Regions from separate parts of the Homo sapiens genome. Here all the other regions are linked to region 1. Evidence: promoter capture Hi-C in human tissues and cell types (Jung and others, 2019). All regions are on one chromosome and are shown on one strand. The core of a region is centred on a gene start or on the middle of the fragment in contact, and the rest is flanking DNA. Distances in the headings are between cores, read along the strand shown. Region 1 holds the start of ABRA (actin binding Rho activating protein). Region 2 has its middle 150 kb from the start of ABRA. Region 3 overlaps OXR1 (oxidation resistance 1).

Evidence for each region. Contacts are between HindIII fragments. The study calls those that stand out against the background at their distance.
Region 2: a contact is called between a fragment that was not itself captured here and the fragment with the promoter of ABRA in region 1, in 1 of the 25 tissues and cell types used here (hippocampus).
Region 3: a contact is called between a fragment that was not itself captured here and the fragment with the promoter of ABRA in region 1, in 1 of the 25 tissues and cell types used here (hippocampus).

Annotation. Positions count from the first base shown.
Region 1 is chr8:106,768,833-106,772,556 of GRCh38, forward strand. It overlaps ABRA (actin binding Rho activating protein), which reads right to left and starts at 1,412. Exons shown (of 2, transcript NM_139166.5): 1 at 691-1,412. The coding sequence starts at 1,358. The HindIII fragment of the contact is 12,258 bases long and covers 1-3,724 here.
Region 2 is chr8:106,922,109-106,925,428 of GRCh38, forward strand. No RefSeq gene overlaps it. Among named protein-coding and RNA genes, the nearest start is that of ABRA, 150 kb to the left of the region's middle. The HindIII fragment of the contact is 3,365 bases long and covers 157-3,320 here.
Region 3 is chr8:106,603,665-106,607,347 of GRCh38, forward strand. All of the region lies in intron 3 of OXR1 (oxidation resistance 1), which reads left to right. All of the region lies in intron 1 of OXR1-AS1 (OXR1 antisense RNA 1), which reads right to left. Among named protein-coding and RNA genes, the nearest start is that of OXR1-AS1, 52 kb to the right of the region's middle. The HindIII fragment of the contact is 6,770 bases long and covers 1-3,683 here.

The DNA.
Region 1 (3,724 bases), core at 162-2,661:
ACCAATGTTGGTCAGGCTGGTCTCAAACTCCTGGCCTCAAGTGATCCGCCCTCCTCAGCCTCCCAAAGTGCTGAGATTACAGGCTGAGCCACTGCGCCCAGCTGATGAAATCACCTTTAAAAATGACTAGTTAGGGGCAGAACTAGGATTTGAACTTGGGTCTGTCTGACTTCATTCAGAGCCTGCTTTCAAATTAGACAGCAGCCTCCACCTGTTTAGAGTCAGAGATTTGTATTCCATGGGTGTTATTGAAGCAGACGTATCTCCTGATAATAGCATAGACATTTGGGACAAGGTAAAAGTTTCCCCAATGAGTCTATCAGAAACCACTCTTATCTCTAAAGAAATAAGCCAATTTGTTACTCATTATAGAACTGACTTAAAGAATTCACGAAAAACAGGCTTCCCTCTCTGATGGCTTCATCTTTGTTGAGGCTAAGACTTGAGTGTTCAGTTCAAAACAAAAACGAGAAACAAAATAGCGCAGGCCCTGACCAAAAGGTCCATGTCTAAGGTTGGCACTGACCTTCAGCCCAGGGACATCCCTCCTCTACAGTACTCACTGCCTGTCCAGTCTTTGAGATTCTCACTCTAACCCTGGCAGGACTTCATCTGCTGCCTGGATTCCCAGACTTGGTTGGGGCTCAATAGTGATCCTGACACAAGGAGTGGGAGAATGCATTCACTTACTGGGAGGGCAAGGGGCGCTTGATCCTGACCACAGCCACCTGCACTCCATCCTGCTCGGGCCTCTCCTCAGCCTCTCCTCCATAGCCGCTGTCCTCTGTGTCTACGCTGTCACTCCTCCATGTGGGCTCCTCCTGCTCCATCACTCTCCAGCCCTTGGTTAGCTCAGACACCAGGTTGGCACATTTTCTCCTCCGCGTTGGGGAGCCGTGGCTGTGGAGGATTCTGTCAATGTCATTCTCTGGCTGCCCAGGTTCAAGCACACCAGCATCCCTCTCGTACCTGTGGCTGAGGTGGCTCACGTCCCCTCCTCTCTCATAAGTCTTGCTGACCACCGTTTTGGACACCTCTTTCTTTTTGATGTGAGAAACCTCAGGGGCTTTCTCTGAGCTTTGTCCATCTCCATGTCCTTCTGGCAGGCGGGGTGGCGACTTTGGGGCACTCTGAGCTTTCTGGTGTGAAGTAGGGGGTGTGATTGGTTTAGGAGCTTGAGGTGAGTCCTGGGTCCCTCCCGGCAGCCAGCCTGTAGGCTCCTGGGCCTGCCTGATGCTGTTCTCATTCGCCCACTGCTGCCAACCTCGGGCCAAGCTGATGACCAGGGTGGCTGTGCGTATCTTCCGGAGGGCGCTCTTGGCTGGGCCCTCCCCGCTTTCCTTTTCGCCCGGAGCCATGCTGCCCACCTGTCTTTCTCTGCTGATAGCCTGGACACTGGCTAAAATGAGTGTGGTCCAGTGGAGTGCCTGGGATTTAAATAGAAGCAGGGTGCGGGGTGGGAAGGAGAGCTTAGTGACGATGGAAACTATGTGAAGCATTTCTTGCCAAGATGTGGCGCCTTTGCCCTGATGGTGTTCTTTTTATAAATCATGACAGCTCCAGTTTCATCACGGCAGAGGGACATCTCTGCTGGTAAGGAACAGTGATATGCTCACTCTCTTCTCCAAGTGCCAGAGTGGAAATTACTAGATCAAGTCATGTGCTCAGCCTTACGTTTGTCTGACCTTAATATGGTCCTACCATTTATAGGTGCATACATATTATCCTGGGAACATTATAGGATTGTTCCCACTTAAACCCCAGCAGCCCTCAGTACAGCTCCTAATTAGTTCCACTTTATAGCTAAGTAAAATAAAATCTAACTTCCAGCAGCTAATAAAATATGAGATTCAAATCCATCTCTGTGTAATTCAAAGCGTGTGCCTCCTTTTATTCCAGTTATCAAAGATCCTAAGTTGCCTTTTTCTTTTTCATTCAACTCCATTAGAAATAGACCTTAGAAAATCAACTCATCCAATCTTCATTTTCCAAATGAGAAAATTGAAGCCCAGATACGAGAAAGACCAAAGTCCAGATAGTCAAAGACTAATTACTTTCTAGTCCCAACTTTGAACTATTGTATAGATAACTCATATTAAAATACAAAAAGGGAGTCAAAATTTTGGTCCAATCATTAAAAAATGTTTTTAAAACCTGTATACACATTGGATTTTAGAAATTATTATTGGAGGCCGGGCGAGGTGGCTCACGCCTGTAATCCCAGCACTTTGGGAGGCCGAGGCGGGCAGATCACGAGGTCAGGAGATCGAGACCATCCTGGCTAACATGGTGAAACCCCGTCTCTACTAAAAATACAAAAAATTAGCCGGGCGTAGTGGCGGGCGCCTGTAGTCCCAGCTACTCGGGAGGCTGAGGCAGAAGAATCCTGTGAACCCGGGAGGCGGAGCTTGCAGTGAGCGGAGATCGAGCCACTGCACTCCAGCCTGGGTGACGAGCGAGACTCCGTCTCAAAAAAAAGAAAGAAAGAAAGAAAGAAATTATTGTTGGAATACATATTTTGAAATACTTTGTTTGAAAAGATCATCTAAGGACAGAATTCTAAGGACAGAATAAATGAAAGCTATCGGTAGCTCACTTCTTATCCCCATCCCGCCTACCCTTACCGTTTGGTTTGTGGTTGTTGTTTTGTTTTGTTTTTTGAGATAAGGTCTTGCTGTGTCCCCAGGCTGGAGTGCAGTGGTGTGATGATGGCTCACTGCAGCCTTGACCTCCTGTGCTCAATCAGTCCTCCTGCCTCAGTCTCCCAAGCAGCTGGGAATACAAGCATGAGCCACCATGCCTAGCTAATTGTTTTTGTTTTTGTTTTATATAGACGGAGTCTCGCTATGTTGCCCAGGCTGGTCTCAAACTCCTGAGCTTGTGCAGTCTTCCCACCTTGGCCTCCCAAAGTGCTGGGATGACAGATGTGAGCCCCCACGTCTGGCCCCTTTTGTTTTTAGTAACACAATCTTCCTTAGCAGGACTTTATGTTCATGTAGGCAAAGACAGTTTTTCAACTCTCACAAGAGGGACTGAAATATAATATTTTTTTAAAAGGACTGGAAAGACAAGCATGTGGACAGAAAGAGAAACATCTATGCAGTGTATTAAACCAGATAAAAATGTCCAGGGCTCAGCAATGAATAATTTCTTAAAGTAAGACGGAATTTTTTTTCATTCAACAGGTCTGTTGGCTTTAAAACTATATCCTTTCCTTCAGTCTTGCATGCAAGTAACCATACTGATTGAAAACTGCTGTTTAAGAGCACAAAAAGGTATAAAAGTTAATTATTTCAGAGAGTGAGACATTTATTTTGGAAAAAAGTTGGTATTAGTTTTTTGTTGTTGTTGTTGTTTTGTTTTTTTGTTTGAGACGGAGTCTCGCTCTGTCGCCGAGGCTGGAGTGCAGTGGCGCGATCTCGGCTCACCGCAAGCTCCGCCTCCCAGGTTCACACCATTCTCCTGCCTCAGCCTCTGGAGTAGCTGGGACTACAGGAGCCCGCCACCACGCCCGGCTAATTTTTTTGTATTTTTAGCAGAGACAGGGTTTCACCGTGTTAGCCAGGATGGTCTTGATCTCCTGGCCTCGTGATCCTCCTTCCTCGGCCTTCCAAAGTGCTGGGATTACAGGCGCGAGCCACCGCGCCCGGCCGCTATTCGTTTTTCATCGTGTGGGTTATTTACCTCTTAGGATAAAAAAAATTGGGAAGTGATTTAATACTTA
Region 2 (3,320 bases), core at 589-3,088, 150 kb after region 1:
CCTTTTGGCTTGTGAATGTTAATGGCCCCGCTATAGCCCTTGGCTACTGCACTCTGCTCTAAGCTGTACATAGCAATTCATTACTGAGATCTCATCAATGCCTAGTTTGTGCCTAATGGTTACTGTTAGGCCCCTGACTGATGCCATGTGCTATAACCTTCTAGATGTTATTCACAAGTGCAATTTTAACACAGGACTTTTTAACTTGTGTCAACAAGATAGTTCTCAAAACAATTCTCATCAAATACAATTGTACCTTACATTTTCACAATCCAGGCCAACCAAAGAATTAAAGTTTACTCATCCTGATTTCCAGAGTTATAGCTTGCTTTGTTTGTGGATAATCAGGGGCCATTTAATTATGATGTGGACATTATAACCTACAGTGTATTATTACTGTGAATACTCCCAGGTTTACTACTTTATCTCTTTAGACTGTGGAATTAACATGTTGACATTTTCTGGCAATGATTTGTGTTTAACAGAATCTTGGGCAGGTCTAAGTGACAATAATTTATTACTTTGTCCTTGTTCGTGAGCCTGTCAGGCTCAGTGGAGCTTCTTGGAGTGCATAAGAGAATGCATGTGTATCCACTCTAAAGGGAAGACATATCCACATCTGTGCGTTGTGGGTGATGATGCAGAGTGACTCTGTTCATCTATTTATTTATTCAATTAAGAATTTGTGAACATAGGGAAGCTTGCATCCATAGATAGTGAACTGGAGATTTTTTCTAGCTCCAGACCCTTCAATGTAGCTGATGACAGCAATGTGTTTCTCAAACTGAGAAAATCCTGAAGAGCTTGATGGACGATAAGCAGCCACTAATGGGTGAGTTACCTGACAGCCCAACAGGCAAATTGATGAAGAATTTTTGCAAATCTTAACCTCTGAAAGGTTGGTTTGGGTATAGGAAAAACTCCTGCCAGTAAATACAACACACGGACTGAACTGTGATTGGGATGTGGCTTCTTCTTGACATGAAACAGATGATGGAAGCTTCTGGATATGATTTTTGACCACCTAATTAGTGGTGCATGGTTCATTGCTGGCATCTTCTTCCAGAGACCTTGCTCAGAGATGGGATAAGGAAGGAAGGAATTGGAAATTGTATTGGTCTGTTCTCACACTACTATAGAGAACTAGGTGAGACTAGGTAATTTACAAAGAAAGGAGGTTTAATTGACTCACAATTCCACAGGCTATACAGAAAGCATGGTTGGGAGGCCTCAGGAAACTTACAATCACGGCAGAAGGGCAAAGGGAAAGCAAGTACCTTCTTCACATGCGGAGCAGGAGAGAGAACCATGGGGAACAACCAGATGTCATGAGAACTCACTATCATGAGAAACAGCAAAGGGAAAATCCACCCTCATAATCCAGTCACCTTCCAGCAGGTTTCTCCCTCAACATTGGGAATTACATTTTGGCATGAGATTTGGGTGGAGACAGAGCCAAAGCATATTAGAAGTGTCCCAGCCAGAGGCCTGCCTCTGTTTAGAGGCATTCTTTGAGTATGATGGTGTAATAAACAGGAGAAATTTGGAGCCCCAAGACAATTTTCCCCCGGATAAAGAAAGAAATGAGGGCTATTTTGGAAGACAGTGTGGCAGTTTCTTAACATAGTCTTACCATACAATCCAGCAATCACACTCCTTGGTACTTATAAGTTAAAACTCATGTCTACCCAAAACCCGCACATGGATGTTTATAGCAGTTTTATTGATAGTTGCCAAAACTTGGAAGCAACCAAAATGTCCTTCAGTAGGTGAATGGATAAATGTGGGACATCTAGACAATGGCATATTACTCAGCACTAAAAATAAATAAACTATCAGGCCATGAAGAGAAATAGAAGAACATTAAAAGAATCTTACTTGACATCTCACTTCAGGAGAAGCCAATCTGAAAAAGCAACATACTGTATGACTCCAACTATGAGATGTTCTGGAAAAGGCAAAACCCTAGAGACACGAAAACAATCAGTGGTTGGCAGGGGTTAGTGAGGATGAACAGGGAGATTTCTTTCTAGGGGATTTTTAGGGCAGTGAAAGTATTCTCATACTATACTGGGGAGTACATGTCATTATACATTTATCTAAACGTACAGAATGTATAAGATCGAGAGTGAAACCTAAGGTTAATGAAAGACTTTGGATATAATGACATCAGTGTAGGTTCACTGACTGTAACAACTATACTACTCTGGTGGAGATGTTGATAGTGAGGAATACTGTGTGTGTGGAGGGGAGGGCAGGGGGCAGGTGAAGACAGGGGTATATGGGGACTCTATACTTTCTGCTCAATTTTCCTGTGAACCTAAACTTTTCTTTAAAAAAAAGAAACCCAGATTTAAACATGAATTGAGTAGGTGAGGCAGTGTGTCTTTTGGAGTCTGTGGTCACACATAAAGCAGTTCAAACAGCCTCTGTCTAAGCCCTGTGAGCCTTCCACACTGTGTATCACACTAATACAGCAGGTGTCAGACTGTAAAAGAGGAGAGGTCATTTAGCAGTCATGGGGCATACTCCTATCTCCAACTTATTCTCCTGAAGCATTCTATGCCCATGAGAATCTAAGCTTACTGATGGTGGGAAGTTTAATAAACACTCTGAAGCTATTAAAAGGTTTCTCTACGATTTCTAAAAACCATGCCTAAATAACTGCTTGACACACTTGGGGATGTTCTATTTCTAGAGACAAAGGATCCATCATTCATTGGGTCTTTCGGAGAGAAAGAGAATAAGATAGAATTTGTATTCACACCAAAAACCAGATGAAATATTTTGTGCTGTGACTGTACATCTTTGGAATGCTGGGGCTTTGGGGCAATATTTCCTGAAGCCCTTAATCTTTCAGTAGCTGCCAACTGGCCAAGAAAGAAAAAAGCAGGAGGGTACTTTTCTGTATATTACTATTCATAACAGTTTTGGATATTTTCCCCAGAGTAGTTGATGCTCCTTTGACAGATAGTAAATAATTAATCATCATCTCATTCTCGCAGAGCAAAATGACAGGTTTTTTCGATTTCACAGATGGGGGAAATGTGATCACTAATGGAGAGGAGACTGGCTTAGGACATGGGCCTGGGAGAAGCCCCAGAGGCTTTGTTTCATGGTCAGTTTGAACAGATTAGACTACTGGATGCTCACAGTGCTGCTGGCTGCTGCTTCCAAGAAAGATTGACATGTTTGTCTTGACATCTCGCTTCAGGAATGGATGGATACACAGGGAAGCATAAATTTGGGACTAAAGTGTTCTAACATTTCTCATGCTGTATGTTCATTCGTCTCTTCGGGCAATTCAGCACATGCGTTTA
Region 3 (3,683 bases), core at 527-3,026, 160 kb before region 1:
CTCCCTTAAAAAGAAAGGTTTGAATAGAGCTTTAAATTTTAATAAAGAGTACTTTAAGATGTCTTAGAAAGCAAGTCTGTAAAATTGCTTTAAAAATCAAGAACAGGGCCGGGCACAGTGGCTCACACCTATAATCCCAGTAATTTGGGAGGCTGAGGCGGGTGGATCACTTGAGGTCAGCAGTTCAAGACCAGCCTAGCCAACATGGTGAAACCCCCTCTCTACTAAAAATATAAAAATTAGCTGGGCGTGGTGGTGCATGCCTGTAGTCCCAGCTACTCGGGAGGCTGAGGCAGGAGACTCGCTTAAACCCAGGAGGCGGTTGTTGCAGTGAGCCGAGATAGTGCCACTGCACTCCAGCCTGGGCAACAGAGTGAGACTCCATCTCAAAAAACAAACAAACAAACAAACAAAAAACAGAAGAAACCTGAACACTTGCAGGGATTAAATGGGAAAACTTTTTAAAAAGCAGGTGTATACCGTCTATTAACTGTGTGCCATAGCACTTGGCCACAAACCAAGTATACTTTTGAAACCCCTAACTAATCTTTAAATATATTTTCAAACACCTTTTAAAAATGTGTCAGGGGCAAAAATGTCAAAAGCATTATGACTCCTATGGGTGAAGGGATAAGCCACGATGCTTGAAGTCAGGGGTCTTGGCTTTCACAGGGAAAGACAGGATTTCACCATGTTGTCCAAGCTGGTCTCAAACTCCTGACCTCAAGTAATCCACCCGCCTCGGCCTCCCAAAGTGCTGGGATTACAAGTGTGAGCCACCCGTATACAGTATTATTGATATCCTCCAAACCAGATAGGATATTTAGCTTTTTGTAAAATTCTATAGGTATTAAAGCTTGCAGCATTAAAAAGCACTGCTTTTGAACTCTGACAGATGCAGACAATATATCCAGTAACAAAACTGAGTTTCTTTACTAACATATTTTGATAGCGTGACCTTAAACTTGAGACAAAAAGGAGAGAGGAAGAGTTTTATTGAATAAACGTTTCTAGGAAACAGATGCTTAACAAATGGTTGTACAGCTGTTTGCAATAACATGGAAGAAGCCTATCTTTCGATAATTGTGACATAAGTTTTTCTTGTTTGTTCTCCTAGAGTTGTCTGCAAAAAGTTTATGTAATATGCCTGAAGGTTATACTAAGAAGGAAGCATTTCAGAAATGATTGAAGCTGTTTATCTGTGTGCAAAAGCCTGTAAGTGTGTTTGTGTGGGCCTGGGCACGTGTATATGCCTGTGATTCACACATTTCTTTTCACAAAAGATTTGAGGTCACTCAGGATGTCATTCATCCTGGGTAAAAGCCACCTCAGATTACAAGCAGTTAATAGGTCAGATGCTACATAATGCTCTCTTCAACTTAGATTTCTTAAAATCTTACAAGTTGAAGGAGGTGAGAGCCTGGGACTTTTAATTTGCACTGGGGCAAAATCGTTCCTTTGTGCTGAAAACATGTGGCTGACAAGATGCCACTGGGAAAGCCAAGCTTTTTTAGAAGAGTTTGCTGTATAATTCATAAAGATAAAATCTGTAATATTTTATACTTGAAAGCTAAAATTTTTTAAAAAGACATTATCCAAATCAAAACTCTAGCAATTAAAACACACAGATAGGGTATGGTTGACTTTCTGCAATGCTAATCTGGTTTCTGTCTTAGGTCTATTTGTACAGGACAGATATTCTACTTTATTCTCCAACAAGACTCAGCCTGGAGTTGCCTGGTGACCTGCTTTAATTGAGCCAACCACATTCTGTAGGGGAAAAGCCAGACCAGAAATAGCTAGGATTTAATGGTGAGAACAAAGGCATTCCTAAAATCCTCAAATCTGGGCCTAGCATGGTGGCTCACACCTGTAATTCCAGCACTTTTGGAGGCTGAGGCAGGTGGATCACCTGAGGTCGGGAGTTCCAGACTAGCTTGACCAATATGGTGAAACCCCGTCTCTACTAAAAAAAAAAAAAAAAAAAATTAGGCGGGCATGGTGGGCGCCTGTAATCCCAGCTACTCAGGAGGCTGAGGTGGGAGAATCACATGAACCCGGGAGGTGGAGGTTGCAGTGAGCCGAGATGGTGCCACTGCACTTCAGCCTGGGTGACAGAGGGAGACCCTGTCTCCAAAAAAAGAAAAAGAAAAAATAAAATAAAGGAAACACAAAAAACACCTCAAATCTGATATCTCCCACTTCCTACTTAGGTTGAAACAACATATGACTTCTCTAAGTCTCTATTTTTATTTTCAATAAAATGTGGATGATAATAATAAAATGTGGATGATAATCCCACCTCACTATGGGATGCAAAGTGTTTACCAGATGTATTATGTTTCCTATTGCAGTTGTGACAAGTCATGCAAAAGTTAGTGGCTTAAAACAAATTTATTATATTAAGTCCCAGCATTCTGAAGTCCAAAATGCATCTCACTGGGGCTAAAGTCGAGGTGTCAGTAGGTCTGTGCTCCTTTCTAGAGGCCCTGTGGGAGAATCCATTTTCTTGCCTTTTCTAGCTTCTAGAGGCCCCCTACTTTCCCTGGCTCTTGGCCACCTACCATCGTCAAAGCCAGCAATGTCCCAGCAAGTCTTCCTTAGAGCATATCACTATGATACTCTTTATTTATTTATTTATTTATTTATTTATTGAGACAGAGTCCCACTCTGTTGCCCAGGCTGGAGTGCAGTGGTGTAATCTCGGATCACTGCAACCACCACCTCCCAAGTCCAAGTGATTTTCCTTCCTCAGCCTCATTAGTAGCTGAGATTACAGGCATGTGCCATCATGCCTGGCTAATTTTTTTTTTTTTTTTGTATTTTTACTAGAAACAGGGTTTCACCATTTTGGTCAGGCTGGTACCAAACTCCTGATCTCAAATGATCCGCCCGCTTCAGCCTCTCAAAGTGCTAGGATTATAGGCATGAGCCACTGCACCTGGCCACTATGATACTCTTGATATCATATGATAGCTCTTGCTTCCCTCTTCCACTTGGACCTTTTTGATTACAATGGGCCCACCTGGATAATTCAGTATAATTTCCCATCTCACAGTCAGCTGCAACCTTAATTCCATCTGCGTCCTTAATTTCTCTTTGCCAAGTAAGGTAGCATTCACAGATTCCAGGGATCAATATAAGAATATTTTTTAGGGGGTCATCATTCTGCCTACCTTGTTGGAGTACCTGCTACTAAATAAAAACACCAGGAATGGTAGTTTTTGCTGTTCTTAACCCAAAGGAAGAAAGAGCCCTTCTCTGAATGGTTTTTGTTGTTTAGTTAAGAAAATGCCAACTGACCAATGTCCCAGAAACCAAATGGGTGTAGAGCCCTAGCATGCTTCATTTCAACACCTTTCACAAACAGTAGTTTTGGCACTTTGCCTACCAAGCTGAAAAACAAAGAGCAGGGTTGTTATGTCTGACCTAAATACACATGGTCTGTAACTTTCCTCTTCTCTCTCCATACCTCTTCCCTTCTTGAAGATATTTTACTGCTGGGGTATCAACTTATTTACATGTAGCTGACTCCTCAGAAGCGGAACTTGAATGCCAGCCATTCTGTCGAGCTTAAAGCACCACAATCCAGCTGTGAGCTAGGCAACTTTCCCCTTATATTTTGTGTGCCTCTGAAAACATCTCCAGAATTCAAATGACCATTTTTGACATAAGTTATCCCT